Linked DNA regions of Homo sapiens: all the other regions are linked to region 1. Evidence: promoter capture Hi-C in 16 types of primary human blood cells and fetal thymus (Javierre and others, 2016). All regions are on one chromosome and are shown on one strand. Each heading gives the region's core, a stretch centred on a gene start or on the middle of the fragment in contact. The rest is flanking DNA. Distances are from core to core; before and after follow the strand shown. Region 1 holds the start of LIG3 (DNA ligase 3). Region 2 has its middle 45 kb from the start of TMEM132E-DT. Region 3 has its middle 23 kb from the start of TMEM132E-DT. Region 4 holds the start of SLFN12 (schlafen family member 12).

The links. Contacts are between HindIII fragments. The CHiCAGO score rates a contact against its expected background, and 5 or more counts as called.
Region 2: a contact is called between a fragment that was not itself captured here and the fragment with the promoter of LIG3 in region 1, in 2 of 17 cell types (M0 macrophages and M1 macrophages). The highest score is 7.2, in M0 macrophages.
Region 3: a fragment that was not itself captured here is called in contact with the fragment with the promoter of LIG3 in region 1 in 1 of 17 cell types (M0 macrophages); the score reaches 5.5 in M0 macrophages.
Region 4: a contact is called between the fragment with the promoter of SLFN12 here and the fragment with the promoter of LIG3 in region 1, in 12 of 17 cell types (non-activated CD4 T cells, fetal thymus, total CD4 T cells and 9 more). The highest score is 12.7, in non-activated CD4 T cells.

What each region holds. Positions count from the first base shown.
Region 1 is chr17:34,978,683-34,982,588 of GRCh38, forward strand. It overlaps LIG3 (DNA ligase 3), which reads left to right and starts at 1,830. Exons shown (of 20, transcript NM_013975.4): 1 at 1,830-1,940. RefSeq lists a silencer at 1,855-2,284. The HindIII fragment of the contact is 8,847 bases long and covers 1-3,906 here.
Region 2 is chr17:34,532,521-34,536,626 of GRCh38, forward strand. No RefSeq gene overlaps it. Among named protein-coding and RNA genes, the nearest start is that of TMEM132E-DT, 45 kb to the right of the region's middle. The HindIII fragment of the contact is 3,406 bases long and covers 799-4,106 here.
Region 3 is chr17:34,554,347-34,558,415 of GRCh38, forward strand. No RefSeq gene overlaps it. Among named protein-coding and RNA genes, the nearest start is that of TMEM132E-DT, 23 kb to the right of the region's middle. RefSeq lists a silencer at 2,151-2,351. The HindIII fragment of the contact is 5,781 bases long and covers 1-4,069 here.
Region 4 is chr17:35,430,046-35,433,924 of GRCh38, forward strand. It overlaps SLFN12 (schlafen family member 12), which reads right to left and starts at 2,455. Exons shown (of 4, transcript NM_018042.5): 1 at 2,143-2,455. RefSeq lists enhancers at 2,365-3,090, 2,459-3,658, 2,587-2,806, 3,627-3,866, 3,817-3,879. The HindIII fragment of the contact is 4,520 bases long and covers 1,125-3,879 here.

The sequences.
Region 1 (3,906 bases), core at 580-3,079:
GGGCGACAAGAACAAAACTCTGTCGCAAAAAAAAAAAAAAAAAATTATTAGCCCATTGTGGTGGCAAGGGCCTGTAATCCCAGCTACTTGGGAGGCTGAGGCAGGAGAATCACTTGAACCTGGGAGGCAGAGGTTGCAGTGAGCCAAGATCGTGGCACTGCACTCCAGCCTGGGCGACACAGCGAGACTCTGTCTCAAAAATAACTAAATTAATTAATTTAATTTAATGACAATAAAAGGTATAGTATACTAAATATATAAACCAGCAACATCGTCCTTTATTATCATTATAAAGTTTTATATACTGTACATAATAGTGTGTGCTATGCTTTTATACAACTGGCAATGGAGTAGGTTCGTTTCCACCAGCATCTCCACAAACACATGAGTAATGTGCTGTCACTATATGATAGGGATTTTTCAGCTCCATTATAATCTTATGGGACCACCCTCATATATTTGGTCCATTGTTGGCCTAAATGTCATTATGTGGTACATATTATTAATGAGATATTTTACTTTTTTTAGTATGAATTTTTTGGTGTGTATTTTCTTCACTTATAGCACATCTCAATTCCATGCAACATTCAAGTGCTCAATAGTCACGTGTGGCTAGTGATTACAGCATTGGAAAAAGACAGATACGGTTGAGGAAACTTAAAAAAATGTAGCAAATGTAGTTGTAGAGACGTGCTCAAGATCACTCAATTATCATAGCTAGGACGTGAGTCTCCAGCGACCTTCCAATTGCCTGGTTGAACCAAAGCCCTGGTTCATTCTGCTGCGCATTAAAAGCAGGCTTTACTCCCCTCCAAACAGTAGAATCGCAGTTAAACTTAGTCAAACAAACTTAATGTATCCAATACAAAACTCATCTTTCTAACCCTAACACCTCCTCTTCCTCTCTATTTTCTATTTCAGTTGATGGTACCATTATGTTTCTGCTCACTCAAATTATTATTATTTTATCCATAAACGAGCACTTTATCTAGAAGATCATTTAAATTCTAAATGATCTTCAAAAACGCACTTTACTCTCCACCCTAACTAGCTGAATCATCTCCCACATGGGTCACTATGAGAGCCTTCTGATTTGTTCCCTTGCCTCAGTCTCTCCCCACCCAGCTTCAGCAGTATTCCCTAAGACTCTTCATGGCTCTCCGTCCTCTACAGAGTAAAGACGACACTCTTCATCACACAGCACAGAATTCTCTCGGGAACCTGTTCTTTGCTTACCTAACAAGGCCCAGTTGTTTGCTCTTCCTAGACTCTGAAGAGGTCACTTACCCTCAGGCTGCTACATTTGTAAAAATCGCCATCCCAACTCTCAAAGAGCTGGCTTCAGATTTGAGATAATACACTTTGAATGATATACAATCAAGGAGTTTCTCCTCCATCACTCCTTTACATTTTATATCTATCTGCTGTTTAGTGCCTCGTCTCAATTCCATGAAAGCTACTGAATACAAACTATTTACTAGGGAGTCTGCGGGACACAAACAGAGGGATTATATTTAAAAAATAGATTGACGCGATCTTTGCCTTCCCCGACCTCATTACAATATAGTTTCTCCACCAATATCTTTAAAAACAGATCCTCTCTAACAGTATGAGAAAATCAAGGGGAGCCTCGGAAGTTCAGGCCAGGCTGCGTTCCGAGGAGCCGCCACGTCCCCCCACCTCCGCTTCCCGGGCCGCGATTGCAGGTTGAAAACTACTCCCAAACATCACAGGGCAGGCAGAATGCAACTACGACCCACGTGGCAGACGGGGGCGGGGACCGGTCGCGTGGCCGCGGCCTTGGCTCTTGCGCCTGCGCGCTGCCTCCCGCTCTAGGACCCGGATTTAAAGAGACAGGCGCTCCAACCGTCGTGGGCTGCCCGCGGCCTGTAATGAGCAAGTTCCGAGGCCTACGGTGAGCGCCGGAGCCGGAGAGGCAGGTGAGGGGCTACGCGGCGCGGCACGGCGCGGCGGGGCCCGGCGTGGGGAAGGCAGCGGGCCCGGGGCGAGGAGCTCGGCGCGGCCGGGGAGCCAGCCCCCCGGCTCCTCCCCCGCCCGCCTGCGGAGCCCCGGGGCACACCCTCCGTGACGTGGCGGCCCTCCCGGGAGCCCAGGGGGAGGCTCGCGGCTCCCCGGGACCCCCACGGGGCCGCGTGAGGCGGGGAGGCCGGCGCCCGGGCTGTGTTCCCTGTGGAACCCACGGGGCCTTCTCGTACCCTGGCCCGGCGTGCGTCCTCCTGCGCTGAACCGGGAGCGCTCGGGTGGGACTCAGGGAGCCTTGATCACTTCCCGCCTGCGTCCCGGACCCGGTGGAGGAGCGCTCCTTTCTGCCTCGCCGGGGGTCGCGGCCTACGCCGCCGACCCCACTGTCCCCGCCACTCTCCGACAGCGGCGCGGGAAGCCCTTCGAGAAAAGCGGCGGCGGCCAGGCCTCAGCGATTTCCTTCTCGGGCCCCTGGGCTGCGGCAGTTGTGAGGGTGCGGAACGAGGGACAGACGGGTTTCCTCAAAGCTGCATTGTGCCTCCTCGTGGCCCAGCGCCTCCCGAGCCTCCCTCAAGTCCACTCCTTTCATTATTGGGGCCCTAGAGGTTGCTCTGTAAATTGATCTTCTAGGAAAAGTGTTGAAACTCACTTGTTCTGACCTCCTTTTATGGGTCTGCCGTACTTCCACTTACCTCACCTCTGTGGTTCTTAAACTTTGGGAGTTATATAGCCCTTTGTGAATATCACGAAAGTGATAGACCTCCTCCAAAAAACCGTGCATTTTTATCGAATGTACATTTTGTATACATTTTTAGAGAGCTCAGAACAGCCTCCCTCCCCCACAACCAGCGCATTCATGGATTCCTTGTAATTTTCCCAACTACCCTGTGAGGTAGGTATTATTTACCCTGCTTTAGAAATAAGAAAACAGATGCAGATAAATTAAGAGTTTTCTCCGAGGTAACAGTCAGTAAACTGTACAGTCAGACTTGCACTCCCATCCCTTATTCCAGGTCCACCAGCTTTCCTTCACATCATGTTGCACTACAGTAAGCAAAGCCTGCTTTTTATTATAACGTGACAGCAATTTTGCTTCACAGCGTGTGCAGACTGAACATAATTCCAGTATACTTAAAACTAGGACTATAAAATGCTTTAGAAAACATGAATATAAGAAGATGCTGATATAATCTTTTTCCATTTGGATTGATTTATGAGTTCCTGTGAGTCTTGCTGCCCAGTGACTTCAGCATTCTCTGATTCAAGTTGCTGAATGATAAACAGGTTAATTGCACATCGGAAGCCTCTTCTTGAAAGATAACGACGTCACCGATCATAATAGGAGCTGACGTTAATGAGAGCTCTTGCTGTGTGCCCAACTGTTTTAAGGGTTTTACTCTTAGAACAGCTCTTTAAGTTAGGCCCCATAATTAGCCACATTTTACAGATAAGGAAGCTCAGGAACAGAGGTAAGAAACCCATCAAGGTTATACAGCTGGTAAGTGGCTGAGTTAGGATTTGAACTCAGGCAGTCTGATTCCAGGCTCTGCTTAGTTGTCTCTCAATATAGGGATTCTAACTCAATTCCAAATCTATATAGTGGCTTGATTTCTGAGGATGGCATATGTGTTAAACTTCACAATAAAAACTTCATGAACATAATGTAATTTTTACTGGTGATTAAAACGAAACTTCAGGGCCAGGCACGGTGGCTCATGTCTGTAATCCCAGCACTTTGGGAGGCCGAGGCGGGCGAATCACCTGAGGTCGGGAGTTGGAGACTAGCCTGACCAACAAGAAGAAACCCCGTCTCCATTAAAAATACAAAAAAGTTAGCCGGGCGTGGTGGCGCATGCCTGTAATCCCAGCTACTAGGGAGGCTGAGGCAGGAGAATCGCTTGAACCCGAGAGGAGGAGGTTGCG
Region 2 (4,106 bases), core at 1,252-3,751, 450 kb before region 1:
GTTTTGTGTGAGTCCAGGGCAGTCAGCACTGCTGAAAAGAAAAGAGCATCTAGAAACACTTGGGGCTCTCAACCCACACTCAAGGCCTAGGGTGCTTAGAGATTCATGTGGCAAGGGGGACTAGCCCCAGAGCTAGGGTCCCTGTTGCAAACCCAGCATTGCACCCTCCAAGACTCTAAGCAAGTCACAACTCGCTCCTCCTTTCTGAGTCTTAGTTTTCCCATCTGTAAAATGAGCATTTGAGATGTGATCAGTGAGGTTCAACCTCTGCTCCCTGCAGTTGTAAGGAATCTACCAAAGTGGATGGAAAGAGGGAAGTCGAAGCTGGGAGAGGCCTGCCCCCACCCACCACTGTCAGAACAACTCAGCTTGTATCTATATATAGACTGGGCCTCTGCATAAAGTTTTCCTTTGAAGAAAGGGTTTTGAGGTTAAAAATAACTTGAGAATTACTGGATTGGATGTCCTCTGAGGTTTCTTTCAGCTTTGACATTCTACTTCCTTCCTTGAATCTATATCTTGAGCGCCCACTGCAAGTCAGGCACCATGCTGACTGATAGGAAAGGACTGGCGATCAAACCCCCATCCCACCCACAGGACCTCACGGTCCCAAGGTGGGGACGATGCAGCCATTCAGAGTGCCACACTTAAAAGCAGCAGCTGGCAAGTACTTAGTGGCAGGAGCCAGCTCCTGAGGGATCACACTCAACCCCAGGCAAGATGGTTCCCAAGCCATTTCTAGGAAATAATTCACAGGAGCTACTCCTCCAAAGTGAGTTTAGACACATGAAGAGGACAAGCTTAGGGATTCAAATGTGGAAATGCCCTGACTGCTACCTCTTATCCCCAGGATTTCGCACAGGCATAAGGACACAAAGGCATCGGGTGCTCACCCGCATACCAGCGCTTTGCCTGAGTATTAAATCTTCATGCTCTTACAATCTGGGCATTCTTATCTCCCTTGTACAGATGAGAAAACTGAGGTTCAAAACCACAAAGTGACTTGCTCTCCACCCTGCTTTCCACCGTCTAGAGTCAAGACTCGCCACAGCCTTTACTAAAGATCATCTGGTCTCTACTTGGCCCTGTTATAGGGTATAAAGAGAAGAGTTGTTTGTCCATGGTGGGGCCAGAGTGACACTGAAGGGCCAGCATCCCCCTAGGGCCAGCGGCAGAAATTGGAATGGGAATCTTTGAGAAGAGGTGGAGCTGAGATCCTTGTCCGCTGCTCTCCTGCCAGCCCCTCCTTCCTACACAAACTTGGAAGCATGGAGTCTTGCATCCAGACCCGAGGCATTTCTTACAGTACGCGGATGGGTGAAAGGGTGCCCGCCACTCCACAGATCACTAGGGCTAATTGGACTGCCTTGGCTGGCTGGATGAGATCACCCTCATTTGTCCGTGGCCCATGCACAATCCCCCAAAGAGGCTGATTTTCCAAGGAACATCTGATCCTTCTTATGCCTAGAAATGGTTAAACATTAGGACTCAAACTGACCTAAGTTCCAATTCTGGCTCCTCTGTTTATTAGCAACCTGACCTTGAGTGAATCATTTAGCCCTCTCTGAATCTTGGCTTCTTCTCTGTAAAACAGAAACAGTAATACATTACAGGACTATTCCTCCTTTTTTTTTTTTTTTTTTTTCCAGAATTAGTGTGTGATTTCTAATTTAATTTTTGTTTTCTTCTGTGTTATACATGCTTATAGTTTAAAGGTCAAATCATTATTCAAGACTTTTGAAAAAGAGCTGCCATCTCTCACTTCTCTAAGAAACTTTCAATTTTAGCAGCCTTATTGATATATAATCCACAAACGACACAATTCACCCACTTAATATGTATGGATCAGTGGCTTTTGACACATTCACAGAGTTGTGCATTCTTCACCACCAATGATTTTAAATATTTTCATTATCCCCCTAAAAAGTCTCACCTCCCTTTAGCCATCAATTCCCAGCTTCCCCATCCCCTCCCTAATCCCAGCCCCTGTCAACTACTAATCTACTTCCTGTCTCTATAGATTTGCCTTCTCTGGACTTTCCTGTAAAGGGTACCATATAATATGTGATCTTTTTTGTGACTGGCTTCTTTCACTTAGAATAAGGTTTTCAAGGTTCACTCATGTTGTAACAAGTAGAGGTACTTCATTTGTTTTTTTGCCATTTTGTAGATAGACAGTACCACATTTTATTCATCCACTCATCAGTCAATGGCTATTTGGGTTGTTTCCACCTTTTGGCTATCACGAATAACATTGTATGAACATTTGTACACAAGTCTTTGTGTGGACATGTGTCTTTATTTATCTTGGGCACGAACCTGGGAGTGGAATTGCTGGGTCATATGGTAACTATGTTTAACCAGCTAAGGAACTGCCAGGCTGTTTTCAGAAGCATCTTAGCCATTTTACATTTCCACCAGCAGTGCATGAGGCACAGAGTTGTTCTTAGGAGGTTTCACTGAGATGATGTTTATGAAGTACCTAGTATGGTGTGTGACATGTAGTCAAAGAAATAATAGTTTCCTCTTTCCCTTGCTTTATGATTATAATATGTCAGTGTTCTTAACACTTTTAACTCTTCTCAACACATAACCTAAGGCTACCTGCTCACCTAATTCTAAATCTAGGGCAGAGTTCCTTTTCCCAATTTATATCACAGTTGCATAGAGAAAGTTTCTTTAGTCAAATTAACCCCATGCATCAAGGGAGGGCATGCTAGGAGCCCCCAGCAGGACCTCACTTGCTCATCCCCCAAACATAATTGGGAGGGCCAACTTTTGGCTTAACCTCACTTTATCACTATTGCTCATTCTTCTGGCATCTTGTACATCTGCACTGTCCCAGAGGCACTTGGGAACTCACATCCAAGTCAAGAATATGCTGTCTTCTTGGCATTAGGGTTACAACTCAGATCATGTACATCCTGCCCAGCACCCAGTGTCTATAGATAAGGCCCACCGAGCAAAGCTAGAACAAAACTCTAGGTATAGAATTCCAGCCCTGACTATCTAAGCCTCCCTCAAGCACAATGGGAGTCTGTAAAATACTCTAAGATAAAAGGACATGAAAGATGCAAGAAATAAATACAAGCAAGAGAACCATGGCAGGGGAAATTCACTCTAAGACAGCCTTTCCTGACTTTTGACCCCAACACCTTTAGCACGATGCCCTCTATAGTTTGCCCCAAGTCTCTTAGAATACCTCCTTTGTAGTAGCTAGGTTTCTTATGGTTGAAAGTTATAAAAACCCAACTTGAGAAAGCTGAAGCTAAAATAGGACTCACTTGGCTCATTTAATAAAGAAGTCTGGGAGGGGGGAGGGGGACACATCTGAAATGATACCACCACTTAAGTGCCCTCTTTCTTATATAAAGGTCTGTGGCCCTTTCCTGCTGGAGACAGGCTTCTCCATGGGGTTGTGTAGGTCGGACAGAAGGGTAGGGGTAGGTGTTGTGCCCTAGATATTTCTAGGCTTAAATAAATCCAGCTTAGTAATCTCAAGCACAAGGAAAGAGTTTTTTGCCCAAGTGTCTGATATAAAATTCCAGGTCGAGCTTGGGCCATATGCCCACCCTGAGTTTGAAATGCTGAGGTTGGAAATTCCACTAGTACTGCATGGAATGGGAGACAGGAAATTCCCCAAAGATGGGGAGTTGTTTCCCCCAAGATGGGGAATCTTGAATAGACAAACATAACAGCGCTCCTGTGTGTGGTTTTCCATCTTCTCAACAAGAACCACAGAGTCTCCCAGCACCTGGCTCATTGGCATTTAGGCCTCCTTATAACCACACCTTTTACCTACTGAATGCCCAGGATCTGCCAGGCACTACCCATGGGATTTCCCTAATCCTCCCAACAGGGTTCTAAGATAGGTGTTAGCACCCCATTCTACAGATAAAGAACCTGAGGCTCAAGGAGGTCAAGTAAGTTGCCAAAAGTCACAAAGCTAGAAAGTGGCTGAGCTGAGATTCAAACTCTGAATCCAAATCCCATGTTCTTTTCTCTCATTCCCTCTCCTTAGTGACAACCCAACAGCCAGCTGGCATCTGCATGCTAGCCGCCAGCACAGGTGTGTTCTCTTAAACTTTCTGACAATGACTGAAGCC
Region 3 (4,069 bases), core at 966-3,465, 420 kb before region 1:
TTTTGACAAATAAAAGGGAAATCCCAGAAAGGATAATCAACTTTCCTGAGGCTACACAGCACCTTGATGCCAGAGCCAGGTCTGGAACCCTCCTCCCCTGGTCTGTGTCAGGGACCTCCTAAAATATGAGCAGCAGCAGCAGGTCTAGGCACCTCAGAGCCTGAGTTCCCAACTGTCCTCCAGGGTCTGCCTTCTTGTTCATTTTCTGCTCCACCAACCTGTTTCCTAAACATAAATGTAATTACGGCATCACAGTTCAGCTCACAACAGTTCTACCCGCTGACATGTGTGCAGCACTTTACAGTTTGCAAACTGCTGCACCTCATTAACTCTCAGTCTCAAAGGTAGGCAGAGCTGGTATTATTTTAATCTCCATTTTTCAGATAAGGAAGCCAAGGTTCAGAGACAGTAAGGGATTTTTCCAAGCTCACAGCTTGAAAAGATAAGACCAAAATTCAAAGCCAGGCCTCCCAAATCCAAATCCCAGTTCCCCCCAAAAGCTGTTCCATGGTTGCTGAGTGCAGAAACCAAGGTTCGTTCTTCTAAAATTGCATTCAGAAACACGACGGTCAAGAAGCACACACACACACACCCATCACCCCAACACATGTGCCCGAACAAATGAGCAAGGCTGGGATGTGTTCATCAGCCTCCCCTATTCATACATTCCCTCCCCAACCTAGCCAAGGCTGGTCCAAATCTGCTGACACTCCGGGCACTTAATAAACAAAAACATCAAGTCACTCAATCAATAAGCTCAGCTGTCAACAACAAGCGAGGGCTGAGCACTCCTAAGAGCTAATAATGCTTTGAGCTATAAACATGGCCATTAGCTGGGCTCCTGCCCTGCCAGGCGGGCTCTGCCACTGTAGGCAGGGGTACCTGCAGCTGGAGGCCGTGGTATTTCATGGTCGGCTGAACCCACCAGCCCATCCGGGCTGGGCTTTTGCTGCCACCTCCTTCCCCTGACATCCTGGGTACCCCTGCCTGGGACATAAGGAGGGGCTGCCAGGCTAAGAAGGCCCCAACTGAATCCTCCCAGAAAATGTGGAAACCCCAAGGGCCACCACTTCCAGGGCTTCTGACTTGGAAGCCTGTGCTGCCTCCACAACCACATAGTGCCACCCTTGAGAGCTGCCAGTGGATGATGCTACACATCAGCCTTGGAGGAGTCCCATTCAGAGAGGATGCCAGACTATCTGCATTTGAATCTGGCTCGGCAACTTAGCAGCTGTGGGACCCTGGGCAAGTTACTTAACTTCTCTGTTCCTCAGCTGCCTTATCTGTAAAATGTAAATTACAGCCATCTCCCAAGGTGACTGTGAAGCTCCTGAGGTGGCTGTTGTGACTTCTGTGCCTAGCAGAATGTCCAGCAGTTAAATGGTGCCTGGGAAATGACACAAGAGGAAAGTAATCCATGGAGCCACCTATGTGGGTGGGAGAAGCCAGCACGGTTGAAAGGGGGAGGAAACCTGAGCCAAGAGGACAATGTCCCCACCCTCCTGTCTCCCATACCTTGATGTCAAGCATGGTTGGGCAGCAAGCAGAGTCCACCTTTGTCCAGCTGTTTCCTCCAGATGATATCTGACCTTAAAAATTTTGTTCAGCCTGGGCAGGTGGGGGAGGTGAGGGATTAGCAGGCCTGGATGGTACCGGAAGACAAAAGACAGTGGCCTGCCAGGATGCCAGCCCTGGACTAGGGTGGGCACTGAGGCCCCACCCTGGATCCTAAATCCAGGCACAAGATTACACTACTAGACTCTTCTTTTAAATGAGTATAAACCTTGGCAGGGAGTTGCACCACCTGAGCTGTTGTTGCAGCATGTAGAATCAGGGGTCATGTACTCCTCCAGCTTCCCAGAGGAAAATAAGATGCCTTCTTTGTAAGTAGGATTACTTGTCAGCACTTTTGACATTCCAGTGGCTTCTCCTATCTGTCTCCCTGCCTGCCTGTCTCACAGTCTCTGTCTCTCTCCTCTATCTCTCTCTATGGCTCTGTGCCTGTCTCTGTCTGTTCCTTTTTGTCTCCCTTTATCTTTTTGTCTCTATTTTATCCCTCAGAGACAGTGTGAGCACACACACACACATATGCACATGATCTTATTTCACCTACCACTAACTCTTCACCCAGTTCAGAATTCCTGGGAACTTTTGGATAAGAGTTACCACCAATGTCCCAAGGTTAAGGAGCGAAGCATCTGCCAGGTATGACGGTTCAGAACCATGGACAGAGTTTCGTGGCTGGGATCTCCTGGCCCTTAAGGAAGGAGGGCAGCTCACAGTGTCTTGGATGGGTCAGGGGAGTAGGGGAAGAAGCTCCTAAGACTGGCAAGGGAAGAAGAGGAGGAGCCTGGAGAGGTGTGAAGGGCTGGACCTGTGAAAGGAGGTGGAAGTGAGTGTCAAGTGGTGAGGCTGACTTGGGCATATCTGCGTGTAAAAGTGAAGTAAATGAAATGTAAATGCCGTGACTGTGTAAGGGAGTTGAGTGGATCTGAAGGCAGCTATGAAGGCCATGCTAAGGAATGCAACCCAGAGTGAGAGCTGTGTTGGCTTCAGCCTTCCTAGGGTTTCCCTCCTCACTGACTCCTGGAATCCAGAGTGAGTCCCAGGGGCAGCAGAGACCTACCAAGCTAAGCCCCAGGGAGCAGCAGGAGAGCTGAGTGCCTGTGGAGGGAGGGCAGGCAAGAGAAGCAGGACATTCCACCAGGCTGGAGGGTAAATATTTAAAGGGCTGTTTCCATGTGTATAAAAACTCAGTGCATCTGCTAGGCAGTATTTGCAGAAGCTGGGAGGGGAGAGCTGGACCCAGGCCAGCCAAGAAGCCTGTTTAAACCCTCTAACTCACAGCTCCCTCAACCCACACTGCACCGGCCTTCTGGCTCTTAGAGACACAGAGCCCTCTGCCTACTGATACACATGCTTGCACACAACAATACCCTGTGTACAGGGACATGACTAGACACACAAACATACATACATGCACGCACACACATATGCACAGCTCACTGGTTCCTACAGAGATGCACAAGTGAACACACACTCACAGCACCCAGATACACACCACAGACTCACAGCCAGACAGTGCAGATAGCACACTGCATGCCAGATCTCTCTCTGTCTCTCTCTCTCTCTCTCATACACACACACACACACACACACACACACACACACACACACACACACACACACAAACGCACCAGCCACACTGTATCACATACCCAATCAGACCACATAGCTCACATATCATTACAAATACATCCACAGTGGCCTATACATCTCACATGGTAACTCACACACTTGGTCCACATGGCATCACACCCACAAATGTCTGTATGACTTACACTGAAACACACAGAGACCAAGAATCACACATTAAACAATATTACAGGTGAGCCAGTACATGCACAGAAAGCCTGCCAGATCTCAAACAGGAATCAAATACAGTCATCCTCCACGTAATGCTGTTTCAATCAACAACAGCCTGCATATTCAAGGGTGGTCCCATAAGATTATAATGGAGCTGAAAATTTCCTATCGCCTAGTGATGTAATGTTGTAGCACAGCCCATTACTCACATGTTTGTAGTGATGCTGCTATAAACAAACCTACAGGACTACCAATTGTATAATAGTCTAGCATGTACAATTATGTATAGTACATAATATTTGATAATGATAATAAAGGACTGTGTTGATGGTTTATCTATTTACTATACCATGCTTTTTATCGTTAGAGTGTACACCTTCTACTTATTAAAAAAAATGTTTACTGTAAAACAGTATGCTGTGTTACTCCAGCAGCAGCCTCATATATCTCGTTTACTGCACTTCTTGATTGCACTGTTTTCTCTTGTGCTTGATTTAACCTCACAATGTTTTGTTCATCATAGCCCCAAAGTGAACAAAATCCACTGCTAATGTTGCCAGTAAGAGGCCACATCAAGTGATTGTCCTGGAAACAAAATTAAAAGTGATTAAGGACTATGAAGGTGGAGAATCAGTGATGGTTACTGCTCATCAGTCAGGCATGTGTCATTCCACCATAGCTACAATCTTGAAGAACAAGATCA
Region 4 (3,879 bases), core at 1,205-3,704, 450 kb after region 1:
CTCTTTAAATTTTCTGGTAATGCTTTAAATTTTCTGGGCTGCTCCCCAGCCCATGCAGGAGCAAAAGTTCCACCCGACCTATAGCTTCCAAGTCCACCATTCTGAAGTCCTCAACAGCCTGCAGTTTATTAGAAGTTGCTACAGAGACAGGAAAGTGTTACCGGTGGAGGGTGTCCTGCTCACTGAAACATTCTGTTTGCAGGAGAAAAACAAAAACTTGGTCTGTTCTAGGATCTATGTGTTTCCTTAAAGTCTTAGAATGAGCAACTCCATTTTGGTTTGGTTTGGTCTGTTGGGGCCATGAGCTCAGTCCAAAACACTGGCCTTTCACAATTTTGTTTTTTAAAATTCCCCCTTTTTGTTCAGGTTCTCACTTAGGTGAGAATGTAACCAAAACGTAAGGCCTTAGCGCCGCTCTCAGTTACCATCATTTTGGGTTTCCAGTCTCAGCACACCATCCATAGGTTACAGTGTCCTCATGGTCGCATATTTGTTTCACTTCTCATCATTCCAGTTGAAGAGAGACCATTTGACATTCTAGAGATGGCTGCATGCAAACATCGAAAACCTTTGAGAGAATACAGTGCACCAGGGAGCCTATTATTATGATGACTATTGGGAGGATAATACCAAGAGTTTGGAGGATGCTCCTTGCCCAGGGTTCCCATAAACCAAACCAGTTAAAATTAAATAGATCAAATAATGAACTAAATAAAGAATCTACCAACTTAAGTAAACAATCTCCTCATTAATCCCCTACAACTGAATCTCTTAATCTTCATTTAATGTATTTCTCCATAGACTCTAAGTGCCAGCAGCTGCACAGATACTTCTCTGTTCAGCCAATTCTATCATAACTTTCACAAAAGAATTTAAAGTCTGTTGTGTAACTATGGCCTTTACAGTAGATGTTCTGAGAACATCTATCCTATGGGTTCTAGGTTGTGAAGGGGTTGATTGTTCTCAGTGAACCATAAAAAGCTTTCTTTACCTGGTGAAAATACACTGTAGCATAATCATGGGAAAAGCTTTTATACAACAAGAAAACATGCATTGAAAGTGACATTGAATAAAATCCCTTTGTAAATGTTTAAATGGCCCATCGGGTAGCCAAATGTACCTGAAGCTTTGATTGTCTTCCCAGGAATATGGATTTGAGAAACCAAACATTGGTTATAAACAACTTTAGCAATTTATAAGTCAGCGGTTTCCATGGCAGTTTGATTTTTAAAGGTCAAACTTCCTCGCACTTCAAAGAACGCTGAGGCCAAACAGCACCAAAGGAGAACATCACACTTTAACCCGACACAACCCTGCTTAGAACAGCAGCACAAGAGCCTGCATACATGCAACTCCATCCCACTTTACCATTCAACAGCAAACTCCAGATTCCAAACAATATTGAGGCCAAACACTACTGCAACCGGAAGAGAAAATTCTAAGGAGGGCTTAGTACTAGGCCTAAGAACCTCTACCAAAGGAACCCCCTTGGAGAGGCTGAGGTCCAAAGGATCCTCCAGAGCATCCCCCTTTAGGGTCCAATCTTAGAGCGTCAGACGTCTCTGACCTTAGGTGGTCACCAGTGCCACTTTACATGTTTTCCCTCCAGAGGGGATGGCCTACTGTGAGCTTTCCTTTTGTCTCTGGATGAAGGCCTTGACTTCTAGCATCCTTATAATTTGATAAGGCCATGCTTTCCCATGGTTCCCATTCCACTAGAGTGATAGTCATGAACTTTAATGATATGAAATGGAGGCTAGGTGGGTTTCTTTTAACCTTAGCCAGTAGAGTAGGGGAAGGGAAGAATTTAACATAAGGAAAGAAGGTTTAAGTCACCTGAAACACGTGTGAGTTCGCCCTGGAGAAGCTGCGTCACACATAGGGATCAGGGACCACAACCAGAAAAGACAGAAAAGAGCCCTTCCCGCTTCTGGGCAGGGCAACTATCCCCATTCACTCCTTGGCCTTCAAGGCAGCACTGGAGAGTAGCCCCCGGCCAGAAACCTGCAGTCGCCTCCGTGTCTAGGCGCTACCCACCAAGGATCCCACGTTGGAAAGGAAAAGAGAAAGAGAGAGATTTACCTGTATGGAGCAGAAAGGAAAAGGGAAAGGAGAAAAATAAATCCCAGACTTTGGGCTTACCTCCTGGTTGGCTTGCCAAAATATGTTACCAGTGAAGAGTGTCCAGGTTCTTGGCGTGTTGAACAAAGAACTGGACAAACACACAAACAAAGCAAGGAAAGAATGAAGCAACAAAAGCAGAGATTTATTGAAAACGAAAGTGCACTCCACAGGGTGGGAGCAGGCCCGAGGATAGCGGCTCAAGAGCCCGGTTTCAGAATTTTCTGGGGTTTAAGTACCCTCTAAAGTTTTCCCACTGGTTACTTGGTGTGCACACAATGTAAATGAAATAGGAGCCCGAGATCAGTCTGAATGGTTGCAGAAAGCGATCAATGGGAGGCTGAAGTGAAGTTACAAAGTTATGCCCTATGAAAACATCTGATTGGACGCAGAAAGCGAAGTTACAAAGTTACATTCCTATGCACATGAAGACTTGGCCCTGGAGACCAGTCTGATTGGTTGCGGGAGGGGACCAATCAGAGGTATTTTCAGTTTTTCATCTGCCATGTAGAAAAGGAGGGGCTACAAAGGAAGTTTGTGGAAAGTTGGGATTTTCCTCCAGACCCTTATTCTCCTGCTTCAGAAGGGAGAGAAAGCAGACCGGGATGGGGGTGCGGGGATCTTCCCGGGAGTGGTGGGGTTGTGTTACCAGTGCCCCACCTCCTCCCGAGCCAGCAGACTCCCCAGAAATGAAAAACTAAGGCTGGAAGGTTTAGCGATGGAGCAGGACCAACTTACCAGCTCGCGGTGCTCCCTAGAAGCTGGATTCTTCGCAGGTGCGAGCACACCCCAGATGCCAGCGTGGACCCTTGAGCAACTGGAAGTTAAAAACCCACGAAAACAGCTCTGAGTGATCTCTAGGGAGCTCTCGTTTCTTTTTCACCCATGTGTATTTTTTAAGACAAAAAGAAAAAAGGTAATTTAAAGAAAACAAAGAACAAAGGAACTTGGCGAGGCCCAGGCTACAGTCCGCGGGCTCACTCTCCACAGAGTAAAAAGAACGCGAATCCTTTTCTGTTTTCCGGCCCTCCCCATCCTGGGCTGCGGCTCCACACTTCCCCAGCGTGGCCTGCATTTCTATTGGGCAGCTGGCGCTCCGGAAGTGTCCGCACTCTTTATTATCGACTCTGCGCCTTTGGGCAATTGTCACTATTTTGGTTCATCAAAATTGAAGAAATACCAGGCATTCTTACCATGCCCCTAAAGGGGTGACTCAACCTTTCCAGCTGTACTCGCATTCCCAGAGCAGCACTGCTGCCCCCTTGCTTAAAAGCACGGTTGCCCCCAGGAACCAGGCCAGGGCAGCTGTGGATGGACAGGAGAGGACAAAGGTGCAAGGAGCGGATTGCTCCAGGACAGACAGATTCAAATACCTACCCCTGGCAGTGTAGGGAGCATCTTGGGGCCATTTGGGAGATTCCTTTATTGGGATGCTCCAAAGGCTAGTCTGGCCGGATACAGTCCTCCTGCCACTTTGCTTTCCTTTAGCCCCCTTATTATGATAATTATGGTAATACATGTTTTTCCTGCTAACTTGTCTAAGAATTGGTGTCTCAGTACATAGCTTTTGAAATGCACACAGGCCACGATGACTCATCACAGGGGAATGTGCAAGTCTGAGTTGCTCCTTCTCCGCAAGCTCCACCTACCCCACTCTGGACTGCATTAACTGCCTACTGCCTATTCTAAAATCTTAAGGTACCTAGGAAGAGTACCTATTCACATTAAATAACGTATATATTGAAAGCACATAGCTGC